Regions from separate parts of the Homo sapiens genome. Here regions 2 and 3 are each linked to region 1. Evidence: promoter capture Hi-C in 16 types of primary human blood cells and fetal thymus (Javierre and others, 2016). All regions are on one chromosome and are shown on one strand. The core of a region is centred on a gene start or on the middle of the fragment in contact, and the rest is flanking DNA. Distances in the headings are between cores, read along the strand shown.

What was found. Contacts are between HindIII fragments. The CHiCAGO score rates a contact against its expected background, and 5 or more counts as called.
Region 2: a fragment that was not itself captured here is called in contact with the fragment with the promoter of COL4A1 in region 1 in 1 of 17 cell types (endothelial precursors); the score reaches 6.8 in endothelial precursors.
Region 3: a fragment that was not itself captured here is called in contact with the fragment with the promoter of COL4A1 in region 1 in 1 of 17 cell types (endothelial precursors); the score reaches 5.6 in endothelial precursors.

The regions. Positions count from the first base shown.
Region 1 is chr13:110,303,983-110,308,429 of GRCh38, forward strand. It overlaps COL4A1 (collagen type IV alpha 1 chain), which reads right to left and starts at 3,175. Exons shown (of 52, transcript NM_001845.6): 1 at 2,962-3,175. The coding sequence starts at 3,045. It overlaps COL4A2 (collagen type IV alpha 2 chain), which reads left to right and starts at 3,302. Exons shown (of 48, transcript NM_001846.4): 1 at 3,302-3,546; 2 at 3,878-3,965; 3 at 4,087-4,141. The coding sequence starts at 3,922. RefSeq lists enhancers at 2,931-3,764, 3,765-4,447. The HindIII fragment of the contact is 7,261 bases long and covers 1-4,288 here.
Region 2 is chr13:110,377,109-110,381,469 of GRCh38, forward strand. All of the region lies in intron 4 of COL4A2 (collagen type IV alpha 2 chain), which reads left to right. Among named protein-coding and RNA genes, the nearest start is that of MIR8073, 38 kb to the left of the region's middle. RefSeq lists an enhancer at 2,350-3,300. The HindIII fragment of the contact is 4,321 bases long and covers 507-4,361 here.
Region 3 is chr13:110,397,297-110,402,081 of GRCh38, forward strand. The region is part of intron 4 of COL4A2 (collagen type IV alpha 2 chain); the gene reads left to right. Among named protein-coding and RNA genes, the nearest start is that of MIR8073, 59 kb to the left of the region's middle. The HindIII fragment of the contact is 881 bases long and covers 1,704-2,584 here.

The DNA.
Region 1 (4,447 bases), core at 1,925-4,424:
AAAATGTAAGGTCCTCTGGTGCCTAAAGCACACTCATCCTGTGTACACGTGACTATTAATAATATATAGCATTGATAATTCTGTGAATCTAGTCAGAGTACATGAACATTGTGTCTTCTGGTTGGTCTTAAAGTTATGTCCCTTCACCCTAGTCCAATTCCATCTATTAATATAAAGAGCTTGCAGATATAAGGAATAGCTTCACCAATATCACTCCTGAGATCCTGGGCGATGCTGCTCTTGTTGGGACTGATTCAGAAACCAGCCTTCTCTTCTAAACTACATTTCCAGTAGAACATGGTCCATACTTATATGGGAATGAAATCTCACTTAGTTTGAACTCTAGGTCATTCAGTCCCAGAGGTGGTGACTAATGGTCAGGAGATGACAGTATTGCTGGACAAGCATCACCACACTGAGGGGAAAGTTCACGTTTCTAATCCTGAGAAATAATCTGTTAAGAAGCATCACACAGAACCAGCTAGAGGGGAGTGTGAAAGCTGCTGCAGGAAGGGTTCATTCCGCCCAGTGCAACTGAGTGACTAAGAGTAGAGGGTGCTCACAATCAGAACACTGCTGGCACGTGTTTGTCTGGAGCCTGCAAGCTATTCCTCCTTTCTTGCTGAAGAAAAGTGGAGGAAGGGAGGAGCGGGGAGTAGAGTGGTAGGTTCAGCGTGGGATAAAATCAATGGTTTAGAAAATCCACCCATGAGTACGTAAACAATATGACCATAGCAGATACAGCAAATACAAAATTAAACAGCCTTTCATGAAGAAAAAACAATAAGGGCAATTCATGCCTGGCACACAGCAGGTGATGTCTGGATGTACAAATGCAGGTGAAGTGTGATTCAGACAGTGCAAAGGAGAGGTAAGCCAACAGTCACTTCCACTGGCTTCTGAATGAGGATCTGATCAAATCCACAGCATCTTATCATTCAAAATGTGCTTTTAAATTATGTTTTGCTTGGATCAGTATTGAAGCTATTTCAGTGTTATGGTACATCTAACAGCTGATTTTGGAAGGAGGTAAGCCAAAATGTTATTGATGGCATGAAAAGTGAGACAAATTTTAAAATTAGGCAGATTCAGTTTTTAAGTGATTTTCTTGTATACCCATACATCATCTGCACATTAAGCACTTTTCTCTAATTAAGCCAGGGAAAATACAGAGTAATGATAATATCTGTGAGGTCAGCTGTGATCAGAAGTGCCCACAGGCTGCATCTCTTAAAAACAGTCCATGGCACCTCAAGGGACACTGCAAAGACAGTGGCCGGGAATGTAATTGAGCTTTAGGAAATGATTAAAGGGAAGTAAAATCATCTCCAACTCAACATTAATGCGTTTGATTTCCCGGGTGAGAACAGGATTTGCGTAACTGAGTGGTTCTTTCTTTCTACAGTCCTGGATGTTTGGAAAGCCAGCTCTTACAGTTAGCTTTCTTTGCTTTGCTAACATTATCCATCAGAAAATCGAAATGCAAACAGCTCCTATTTCCCAATGAAGAACTTTCTCTGATTTACCTTACCATCATCAGGCTTCACCATCTCACCTTGGAAGCGTTCAATCTTTTGGTCAATATTTCTAGACCAAAATAAAGTGCTCTCAAGCCTGTTCTTTGGAAAGTATTTTGTCATCATTACCAAAGAGTGTTTAAATAACTGGCTATGAAGTTTGGGGAGACTGGGCTGGGAGGTACAATCTGAAGTTAATTGCTGATGTAATCATTAGTCCTTTCAATACCCAGTGGAGAAGCTGCCTCCAGGGAGATAAGCTCTCAATTAGGAGACGTGTGTGTATATCACCAGTTCTCTCTGGCATGTAACAGTTAACAATTTCTATACAGTTAAGTGGATTTAGTGAGTATCATTCTTCCAGGAGAGAAGTAAAATTTTTTTTTAAAGAGGAAAACAAAGAACAAGATTAAGAACAGTAAAAGAATAAGTATGGAAAATCTGGTAAGTAGCAAAAATCATTTTTAAGCATTTGAGGGAGAAACTGCAAAATCTGTTCAGAAGCCACACCTTCCGGCCTGTGGGACTGCATGGCTGTGACACTGAGCAACAGCTGAAGTCTTTATTCTCTCGGAGGGGAAGGAAAAAAGGAAACAACAGTCAGTCCAGGCTTGTCCACGGCTGGAAGCCTCGACTCCTGCAAACCTCCTGCAAACCGATCTCCCAGATCCTTTCTGGGCAAGCACATAACCAAAGGAAATGAAAACTAGAAAAACAATTTGTGCATGGAACAATGACATGGAGTTTCACTTTGGTTTCATGCTCAAATATGAATGTGGTTATAATTTTTTAAAATATATATTAATAGAAGGCAACGAGTTGAGGATGGTGGCTTCTTCAAGCCGGGCGTCCAGAAGAGCCCCACTTCTGCCTTGGAGCGCGCCTTAGGCAGCAGTCGTGGGAAAGCTCAGATACAGCTGTTTCCAGGCAAAGGGCCCAGAGCTTTTCAGCCTCAGCCACCAGGGTCTCCAGACAAGGAGAAATACGCCCAAAGCTGCTCCCAGGGGCTAGGAGCTCGGAGCTCCCAGTGTGGGTCTCTGAGCAGCGCGGGGTGGGCGCTCCCGGCCCTCCAGCCCCCAACTCCCTCGCGCACCCGGGACGGGTGAAGGCGCCCAGCTGCCGAGCATACCCGCGACGCGGGTTCAAATCCCGCCGGCTCCCAGGCACCCTCACCCCGCCACAGCGCGGGCTGTTTCTCCTCCCTTCCCCGGAGGAATTCCTTAACTCTCCAGTACCCATACCATAACAAAGGAGGCTCGGTCCACCAATGCGCGATCGTAGCCTACAGGGACCCCCAACGAACCCCGGCCCAGAGAATGCACCTGGCCGTGCCACGCGCGACCCCCGAGGGGCAGGCGGACGGGTCCAGGCGCGGACAAAGGGGCCTCTCGGGGCGCCCAAGCTCGGGGCGGGACGCCGGGAGCGGAGCTGGCCGGGAACTCACCTTCGCAGCGGCCCGGCTGTGCTCCTCGTGGAGCAGAAGGGCGGCGGGCAGCAGCAGCAGCCAGACGCTGAGCCGGGGCCCCATGGTGGCGCGCCCGAGGCGGCGAGGGACGGCTGCCCGGCGTGCGGGGGCCGCGGCGGACAGCTAGCTCTCGGAAGGCCGGACTTCCAGCGCTACGCACCGTCCCGGGTGCGGCGGCTCCAAGCGGAGACCTGAGCGCGGCGGGCCGAGCTCCCCAATTTGTTGGCGCTGCCCCCTCCCCCCCGGCGGTGCGCGGGCGGCGCCTCAAAGGGGAGGACCCTGCGGCGCGGGTAAGAGGCGGCGGGAGCGCGCGGCCCGGGAGTGTGGCTGCAGTGCGCCGGGACACCAGGGCTCCGCGCTCCGCACTCAAGAGGCTCCCGCGTCCCAACCCCTCGCGCCCGCGCGTTCGCGGATCCAGGCCGAGGACCGAAAGGGGCCGCCCGAGCCCCCGGGGCCGGCGCCCAGAGAGCCCAGCAAGGCCGGCCGCCCTGCCGGTGTGCCGCCGGCGGGTGCTTCTGGAAGGGCCAATGCGTTCGGGCAGCAGCCCCTGAAGCCGAGCCCGAGGTGAGAGCGACCCCCGAGCGGCGCCCAGACCCTGGCCCGAGAGCACCGACTTGGAGCGCCTTGTGCAGGCTAGGGCTGCACGCTCTCCTGCTTGGGAGTAGAAAGGGGGAGGGTGGGAGAGCGAAGACCGAGCTCCTCGGCCAAGGAGCACCCACAGGGGCCTAACGGGAGGCTCTCCTTCTTTCCGGGTCGTGGGGGGGACGGCCCTCCGGTCACCCCTGCATGCGGGCCGCGCACCGCGCTGTCCCCGCGTCTCGCGGACCGAGACCGGCGGTGAGGATGGGCTGCCTCCCTCATCCTGCGCTAAACTCGCTTTGTCTGTCGCCTCTAGGCTAAGTGGGACTGACCGGGGCCCAGAGTGGACGAACCGCCAGCATGGGGAGAGACCAGCGCGCGGTGGCCGGCCCTGCCCTACGGCGGTAAGCGACTTTCTGCCTGGTCCCCGTGGGTCACGCGCGCATGGACCCTTCGGTGTAACTCTCGGGGACTGACAAGCCGGGCCCGCACGTTCACGTCTCTCTTCCTCCCTTTCCCATGCAGGTGGCTGCTGCTGGGGACAGTGACCGTGGGGTTCCTCGCCCAGAGCGTCTTGGCGGTAAGTCCTGGCTCCCGCGCTTGGACTTGCGCGCCCGAGAGTGGTTGGGACGTTTGAGTGGCCTTGGAGAAGGCAGCTCGTCCGTGCGCTCCCGAGTGTGTGTGTGCGTGTGGATGTTCGCCAGGCTGCCCACCAAGGTTCTGAGAAAGCTTGCTCTTCCCTCATCATGCTTTCCACCTTTCCTTCCCCTTGGGTTCCCAGCGTCAATCCTGTGTTTTGCAAGCGTCGGCCTTTCACGGGAACTGGGAACTTAAAATGTAGCCTGAGGCACCGTTTTCGTTGCTTTGGGCAAAGCTGCAGCCGTAG
Region 2 (4,361 bases), core at 1,417-3,916, 73 kb after region 1:
TGAGTGTCTTATACACCTGAAAGCTAGGGTGGGGGTGGGGAGACTTGCTTATACCACCATGCCAGCTGTAGCATTCTGCTCATGGTCACCAGAGTGCATTGTCAGATGTTTCTTGGTTAGGACATCTGCATTCTACATGCAACAGGTGCCATCTCTGCCCTTGCTTGGGGTCAGAGTGCTTTAATCCAGATGCAGTATTGGTTGCATCTGTCATTATCGGCTCATCTGCAGCTGTCCTTCCTGTGTGGTGAGCCTACCCCTCACTCCTGCCTGGTCACTCTCCTGACCCTCCAGTTTACTTTCTGGCTCTGGAGGTGCACTGAGCAAGGGCACACACTCTCCCTGTATCCATCTCCATCCCAGGACCCCGCACATCCCTGCAGCTGCTCCTGGGTGTGCCCACCCCACCCCCACTGGGATTTGAGCTCCCCTCAACTAATGGGCTTTCCATGGGGAATCAGGAGGGTGGGAATTGTGATTCCGTTAAAATCATTTGACTCAGGAAAAGCTTTTCGAAATAATCCCCAAGGACCAACTCTTTACAGAAACTCCTCCCCCGCCTTCATATTTTTGGCTTTGACTATGGGGAAATTCATTATGTTGAGCTAACCTTGGTGAAACAATACTAAAAATAGAGATAATAGAAAAACATGTTAAAGAAGGTAAAATCATCTGAATACGTACTTTATAAAATTCAGCCTAATACTTAATGGCTTTATTCAGACCTAATTTGAACATATCACAAGTATATTTCAACAGAACTTTCTTCTTCACAGAACTTTTCTGGAAAAAAAAGTATACTGTCAAAATGTTTCTCTTATTAGCAATCAAAACCCAGTTTGGAAAAGTGAGTGGTTTGCTCTGAAAAACAACAAACAGGGCTTGTGGGAATTCAACAGAAGAATAACCCACGGCTTGTAAGAATATTAAAACCACGGTCACATTTTACACAGTTTTGGCAAAAGGAATAGCCCAGGCGTCTCGAATCGAGATGTAATGTGAAATGAAGAATTTCAACAGGGCTCATTAGGCTTTTGTTCTATCTGAGCAGAGTTTTCTGCTTTCTTGGCTAAAATAAGATGCATGCAGCTTTAATTGTATCTCCCTTTATTCAAGGTCTTCACTGGCAACCTTAAGTATCAAGGATTTGCTGCTCAAATCATTTGTAAATAAAACTCAGATGTAAGGAAATACAGACAAGGGAGGACAAAAGTTTTGTCCAAAAAAATAGATATGGAACAAATTCAGAGAATTGTAGATATAGGAAGGACCTGATACACTAGCAAGTCTCCTTTCCCAGTTGAGGAAACTGAGGCCCTCCATGGTCCAGAGGTGCGCCTGCGGCCTCATGAGACAGAACCAGGCCCTTTCCTCCGGGTCCCTCGCCTCAGGAGATTCTCTGAGATGGAGAAAGATTCTGGAATTACAGCCAAATCAGGAGGCCTTTTAAGATTGATTTAGGAAGAGCTAAGAGAAAATACTAAATGGAGTTGTTTCCAAGAAACAGAAATAATCAGTGAAATTTCTTTTACAAGGAAATAATTGAAGCAAATGCCCTCTGCATGAAAAGTCGCATTAAAACCCACCCCAGTGGGCACTTCCTGAATGCAGTATTCCCTGCAGACAGCATTTGAACGATACTTAGGAAGCAAACCCTTCGAACCACTGGGAAGAATGTTCCCAGTCTGACCTAGACAGTCCTTAGACAAGGAATTCGGTCCCGCGGTGTATTTCCTTCTCCACAATGTGATCATGGTGGAGAGCTCCACATTGGTGTCGGTGGACACAGTCATGAATGGAAGCTGCTTCATATGAGGCAGAGCCTCCGTGTCCCACCTCACGCACTCTCCGGCTCCTGTAAAGGGGAGATCATGGAGCCGGGGGCATTTGGGCCCCGTTTGTAGTCTTGCCTGGCCCTGACCCATCAGCACCTGCCTAGTTCCGCAGGCACGGAGAAGACTGCACCTTCTGCTCTTAGGTGGCTGCACCAGGGCTTCTTGAAAAGGGGCAGCTTCCTCTCAGGGACATCAGACAAAATCTGAAGGCACTTTTGGTTGTCATACTGTGGAGAGGGTGTTTCTGGCATCTGGTGGGGCACAGGGACGCTGCTACACATCCTATATGCACAGGACAGCCCCGTGAAGAAGAATTATCTGGTGCAGATTATCTGAAGTGCTGAAGGTGGGAGACCCTGGGCTAGAGCAGTGCTCAGCACCCTAAGCTAAGAGGCGAGTACGCGTGCAGGTGCACCCGAGGGAAAGCCTTGCCCTCAGAAAGCCCCTGCAAAATTCCTTGGCATGACCTTCCATCTTGCAGCTCATTTCTTTCATGTACTCAGCAAATACCTGAGTTCCTACTGTGTGTCAGGCTCTGTGTATACCTCAAATTGAGGAGCCAGGGGCGCCGGGCAGCAGTGGGGCTCACAGACTTTTGGCTGCAGCAGAAGCTGCAAGGCTCCTCCCTTCTCATGCACCCCCAAATCCAACTCTGGAGGTGCCGTGTCAGGCGGGTGCACAGACCATGGAGCTGGGGTGCTGGGGTCGGAGTACTCCCCATGGACCCCCATTCGGAAGTGCGGGCTGCTGGGCACATTAGTTAATCTCTTGGCACCACCGTGTTTTATCTCTAAAATGGCAGTGTTGATGAGCCCCCCACTCCCTAGGTGGCTATGCCTGTGCACCCCTAACACATGAGAGCCACGTTAGGATGGTGTCTGGGTCCCTTGTCATTATTTGGGAGGTGCAGCTGAGCTTCCTGGTAGAAGGACTTACTTAGCAACCCGCTCCGCCTTGGAAAGCTGACCCTCCTCCACCTGCCTCCTCTCCTCCACCTTCTCCAGCCCCTCTGTGTCACCAGGCAGCTCTCTCCCGTGTCCCAGTGAGCCCTCCGCAGGCCAGCCTTCCCTTGCAATGGCCTGTGTTGCCAGCTAGTCCTGTTCTGAGAGGATCTGCTCCACTCAAACCGTCCCCACACCTTCCATGTTTGAGCAAAGCATCTGTGGATTGCAGATGAAAAGAAACTTCACCAAAGAGCACATTAGTCATGGCCTCAACCCAGCTGGGAGTGATTTGCATTTGATAACAGCTTTTTAACCCCCAGGAGCCTCTTAAGAGGTGGGTCTTGAAGGAAGTCTTCTGAGAGGCTTTTCTTCTGAGGGGAGGGTCGAACAGAGAATTTTATTTAGACTTTTCTCCCACCAGCATGGACATGAGTTATCAGTATTGTTTATGATTTTATAGAGGAGATTTTCACAAGAGGAACTTTTCCTGTGCCTTTGCCTAATGCATAGTAACTATAAGTCACTTGTTTATACAGCTTTAATGTGTTAACTGTTAAAATTTAAATATTAATATTTTAAATAAGTCTCTATTTGTATACGTGCTGACTCATCGGATTCTCACACTCACTTAGAGATAAGATGGTTTTCTATGCACACACTCACATTAGAAGAATGTAGGGATTTTTTCCATCAATATTCGGGCAAGAGGGCACTAGGAGGCTCATCGAACACCCACAGGGCTCTACGTCACACCCACAAGCTCTATCTCACACCCACGGGCTCTATTTCACACCCATGAGCTCTATGTCACACCCACAAGCTCTATCTCACACCCACGTGCTCTATCTCATACCCACGTGCTCTGTCTCACACCCATGGGCTCTGTGTCACACCCACGGGCTCTATGTCACACCCATGGGCTCTAACTCACACCCACGTGCTCTATCTCACAACCACAGAGCTCTATCTCACACCCACGGGCTCTGTCTCACACCCACGAGCTCTATGTCACACCCACATGCTCTATCTCACAACCACAGGCTCTATCTCACACCCATGGGCTCTATCTCACACCCACGGGCTCTATGTCACACCCACAGGCTCTATGTCACAACCACAGGCTCTATCTCACACCCACGGGCTCTGTCTCACACCTACGGGCTCTGTCTCACACCCACGGGCTCTATCTCACACCCATGGGTCTCTATCTCACACCCACGGGCTCTATGTCACAACCAGAGGCTCTATCTCACACCCATGGGCTCTATCTCACATCCACGGGCTCTATCTCACATCCTCGGTCTCTATCTCATACCCACAGGTTCTATCTCACACCCATGGACTCTGTCTCACACCCATGGGCTCTATCTCACACCCACGGACTCTATCTCACGCCCACCGGCTCTATGTCACACCCACCGGCTCTATCTCACACCCACGGGGCTCTCACGCCCAGCACTCTGGCGTCCCCTTTCCTTGACATCCGCCTGCTCCTCTACCGTAGCCAGATTTCTTTAGGAAAAAAATGATTCTTTAAAAATCTAAAATACTGTAAATCCTATTGGGAAATAACAGTTATTAA
Region 3 (4,785 bases), core at 894-3,393, 92 kb after region 1:
AGCCCCGGAACCGAAGAACCCCTCAGAGCATCACAAGCCATCACTCTGGGTCCCTGTCATTTAAATAGGGATTCAGGCTTCAGGTTGTCAGTATTTATAGGCTTGATTGGAGGGAAGTAAGCCGTATGAGCACTTTTTAAATGAATTTTTATTTCTCATTTCCACTTAGTGATGGATGCACATTTTTCCACTAATAAACATTTGAACTTTTTTCAGTTTTTAAGAACATCGTAGGTGGCATATTTCACAATCTTGGCAAGGCAGACGTTTTTGGAGTAAATCGAAACTGGAGGCCAGAAGTACTGGCTCTGAACTGAACTACCACTTGCAAATCGATGTAGCAGAAGGAATAATGGATCATGTGGACCACGCAGAAAGCGATCTGAGACGGGCGTGTCAGCCGCATGTGGATGAATAGTCCTTTGTGGGCAGGAAGGAGAGGGAGTGGGTGGGTATGAGGGCAGGAGAAAGAATCAGCTCTGTGTTTGGGGGCTGTGAGAGGACACTCAGAAGAAGGCTTTTACACCATATTTTATATTCACAAGTTTATTTATGTTATTTTGAGTCCAACAGAAAGAGTCACAAACGTTAAACTTTAGCAACCCCCTAATGATTGGAAAAGATGGGCAAATCCTTGCTTTAAGAGCAGCTGTATCGTATGGAGAAGAAGTCATCTCTGCTGGGAAAACTCGCGAACAGATGCAGGCTAAAGCGAAAGATCAACTCTCCACACCATTACATTTTGAAGGGCTTTGAAGTTATTTTTAGAAAAACTCAAAAATCTAAATCAAAAATCAGATTTTTTCTTTTTTTTTTTCCTACTGCTTCCTTTTCCTTTTTCTTCTTCTCTTGTCCCTTCTCCTTTTTGGTTGTTTCTATTGCTATTTTTACATGTTCCTTTAGGTGGGGGGAAGATAAGGTGTGAAATGTATTCAAGTGCAACTTTTTCAAAATAATAAAATACATGTTTATTATGAGGAAAACTCAACTGCCTATAGAAATGACAACGGTAAATGTAAATAAGCAAAAGATCAGAGATATAAGTGTATAGCCATCACTTCCTTTAGCAATCAAATAATGAGCTGGGCGCAGTGGCTCACACTTGTAATTCCAACACTTTGGGAGGCCAAGGTGGGTGGATCAGTTGAGGTCGGGAGTTCAAGACCAGCCCGGTCAACATGGTGAAACCCCGACTCTACTAAAAACACAAATGGTGTTTTTAGTGTTTTGTTTTTAGTTTAGTGGTTTTAGATTTTAGTGGTGGCAAATGCCTATAATCACAGCTACTTGGGAGGCTGAAGCAGGAGAATCGCTTGAACCCAGGAGGTGGAGGTTGCAGTGAGCCGAGACCGTGTCACTGCCCTCCAGTCTAGGTGACAGAGTGAGACTCTGTCAAAAAAGAAAGAAAGAAAAAGAAAGAAAGAAAGGGAAAGAAAGGAAGAAAGAATCAAATAACAAAAAGCACAGTCAGCATTATAAGATATCAGACATACCCAGCCCAGAGGCAGGGTGGAGTTGGAGATCATCTAGTCCATCAACCAAATCAATTTAGGTTGATTTTTTTTTAACAATTTTTTTTTTTAGCCAAGTCAAAAAAAGTATTTTTAGCCTTACTTATATATAACTGTATCTTTTTTGGCTCACTTAGACCATTTTATCAAAGGAGATCAACCACAAATTCCTGCCGGTTTTTAGTTGTAAGAAGCTTTTTTTATTGGCAGGAAAACTGGGAGAATGTGTAAGTTGTTAAGCAGCCAGGCCACTCTGTGCCCAGTATTCTGGTAACTATTGTGAAGGATGTTTAAGAAGCAGGTCAAAGGAATGAAAGGGCATTGGGGAGAAAGGTGAAGAAAATTTATTGAACACCTATCACATTTTTCCCTCACTAGCTACTTAACTCACACATCCGCACAGGAGCCCAAGGTTAAACCACTTGTCTAGATCACCAAGGAGAGCAAAGATAAAATCTTGTTCCTCCCGTAAGCCCTCAGAGCCTGTGATGTCAGACACCTTGTTGAGAGATAACATTCACAAAACAACCAGAGAACCTTGATGGCCATCATATATTAGTGACATATTCATGCTGGCATGTGGGGCATAAGTGAGCTCCCGTATTGACTTGGTCTGAGAATGAAGAAGTCTAGCTTTACCCATAATGGGCTTTAAAGCAGCTCTTTGAGTTTGGTTGGCCCCAGACCTAAAGTCTTGCATCTCTGAACCACTTTACCTATTTTCTTTCCCACAGAGGACAAAAATAAATGTGTGGAACTGAGCCTAGGTCCTGTGAAACCTTTTATTCTCCAGATGCATAGCATTCCCTTGGTGACACAATCCAGTTTTGTGAAATATATGAAAATATTGGAACTTTTCAAAAATTGTCTAAATTTGGGGGGATGTGCCATGAGAATGTTTAAAATGCAAATTCCCACACAGTTCATCTAATTGATTTTAATCTGATTATGCCTGCCCTGCAGGATCTTCCTGGCAGGAATATGATAGGCCACCTGCTTCTTTTAGGGGAAAACATTCTGTTTTGAGGGTAAGAGAAGATTTGAGTGAGGTTTGCTTTGGTCATGGCTTCTGAAGCTTGATAATTGCAGAAGTTCCATCTGTAAGATGCTCGATTAAAATTCTAGATGAATTGAGTAATCTCCACAAGGCCAAGAGAATCTAATGTTCTTGAATTTGTTCCATATTCACGATAGATCTAGTAACCATGTGTAGTAATCAGACAAATTCTCCAAAACATACAGCCAGCTGGATTCCTGAACTTTAACAAAGTTTTTATGCTGACTGCTTCTGCAACCTCACTAACTAGCCAGCCTAGATAGGAAACTCCCTTCTTAATTCATTCATAAAGTACCTTTTGATATATAGACCCAATCTCTAATAAACCTTTTGGAGATCAATTTGCATATGTGATAAAAGTGAAAAAGTTGGTCTTCAGATACCTACTACAGAAAAAAAAGTGAAAAAGTTCTTAAGCAGATGAGAAATTTAAATAAGATTTTAAGTATTTTCTGAACATTAATTCACCTCTTGACTTTTGAAACTTTGGTCAGACGGAAATGTTCATTCCTTCTCCCTGAAAGAGTTGATGGTTAGATTTCATAACACAGAAGCTAGTAAAGCAAATGCAGTAAGAAAAGTAGCCTCCCATAGGTATTCAAACACGTATTCAAAATTAAGACAGCAGAAAGTCTAAATGTTTAAAATATGCTTCATTAACTTCTGATTCCTTGAATCTATCCCCATTTATTAATGTTTATATAGAGAACCAAAAAAACAGAAAAATTACTATGATGACTATTAATTACATCATTTTCCAAAAGGGGGAAAAATATTGTAATCAATGAAACCTGAATATACTTTTATAATTGATAAGATTAAAAAAGTTGTAATTCCACTTCAGTAACTAAAAGAGTTATTCAGAAGATAAAGCATTTATAATGATGGACCTAGATTTCTGCTTCCTATAGAGATTTCCTGCCCACGTACACATATTCTGGTTACACAGGAAGGCTCATGAGTTGACTACTTTGGCCAGCCTTCTATTTTGTAAGTATTGGCAGAGAGATACTTAAGAAAAAAAATGATTTCATAAGTAAACTTATAATTAAGAGAATGAAGAAGAAGATGTAGCTCTTGGGGCTTCCATTGCCTCCTAACAGAAAACATCTGCTGGACTTCCGGAATTTTCCTAAGACCTTGAGAACACACCCACGCATTTCCAACTTTTTTCCTAACCAGTGAGTTGGCTTCAGCAGTTTTCAGTTTTATAGCTGACTGTCCCATCCAAACAGTTGTTCAGCTTTGCCCTTTATCATAAATTCATTCCCATTTGTTTATTGCATAGTATTGGTTACCTTCTGTTAATTGGGAGGTGGGGAGGAGGACCAGAGAACAAGCTCATAGGTACAAACCTTGTCAAAACTAAAACCTGTTTTGTAGATGAGGATTGGTTCCTTGTATTGTTAGCATTGCCTTTGCTCAAGAGAATCAATCCAACTCATTTTAGTACCATCTGTATCTTTCAAAATGAAGAAGAGTAGTTAAAACAATATGAAGTATGGCATGTGTCAAACTCCACAAAGGTGTTTTCCATATAAACTTGAGAAAACCTAATTAAGTGGGTTTTGAAGAGACAATGGAGCTCTGTTTATATGTTTGCCTACCCAGGGGAACTAAAACAAACAAAACTTACTTTTAAAAAGCTTCTTCAAAGTTCTCATTTTGTTTTAGAAGAACTTTCAGCTTCATTGCTTTCTAAGTAGCTTGATATCATTAGAAACTGATAATGCTCAGCACAGTCAGCGCAAGATAAGTTAACCAGCTTACATCCACCTATATGTTTAGGGGTTCTCTTGGTCTAAAACGTCTTGAAAACCAAATTTCTGTGAATCAGTTACTGTCTTAGTCCACTTGGGCTATTATAACAAAAATACCTTAGGCTGGATAATTTATAAATGACAGAAATTTATTTCTCACTGTTCTAGAGGCTGGTAAGTCCAAGATCAAAGTACTAGTAGATTTGGTGTCTGATGAGATCCAGGATTCATAGATGGTGCCCTGCTGCTGTGTCCTCACGCAGCAGAAAGGACAGATGCTCCCTCCTTTATAAGGGCACTAATCCCACTCATGAGGACATCACTCTAATGACCTAATCACTTCCCAAAGGCACCACCTCTCAATACCAGCAGATTGGGGATTAGATTTCAGCTTATGAATTTTGGAGGGACACATTCAGTCCGTAACATTTCACCCCTAACCTCCCAAAATTTATAT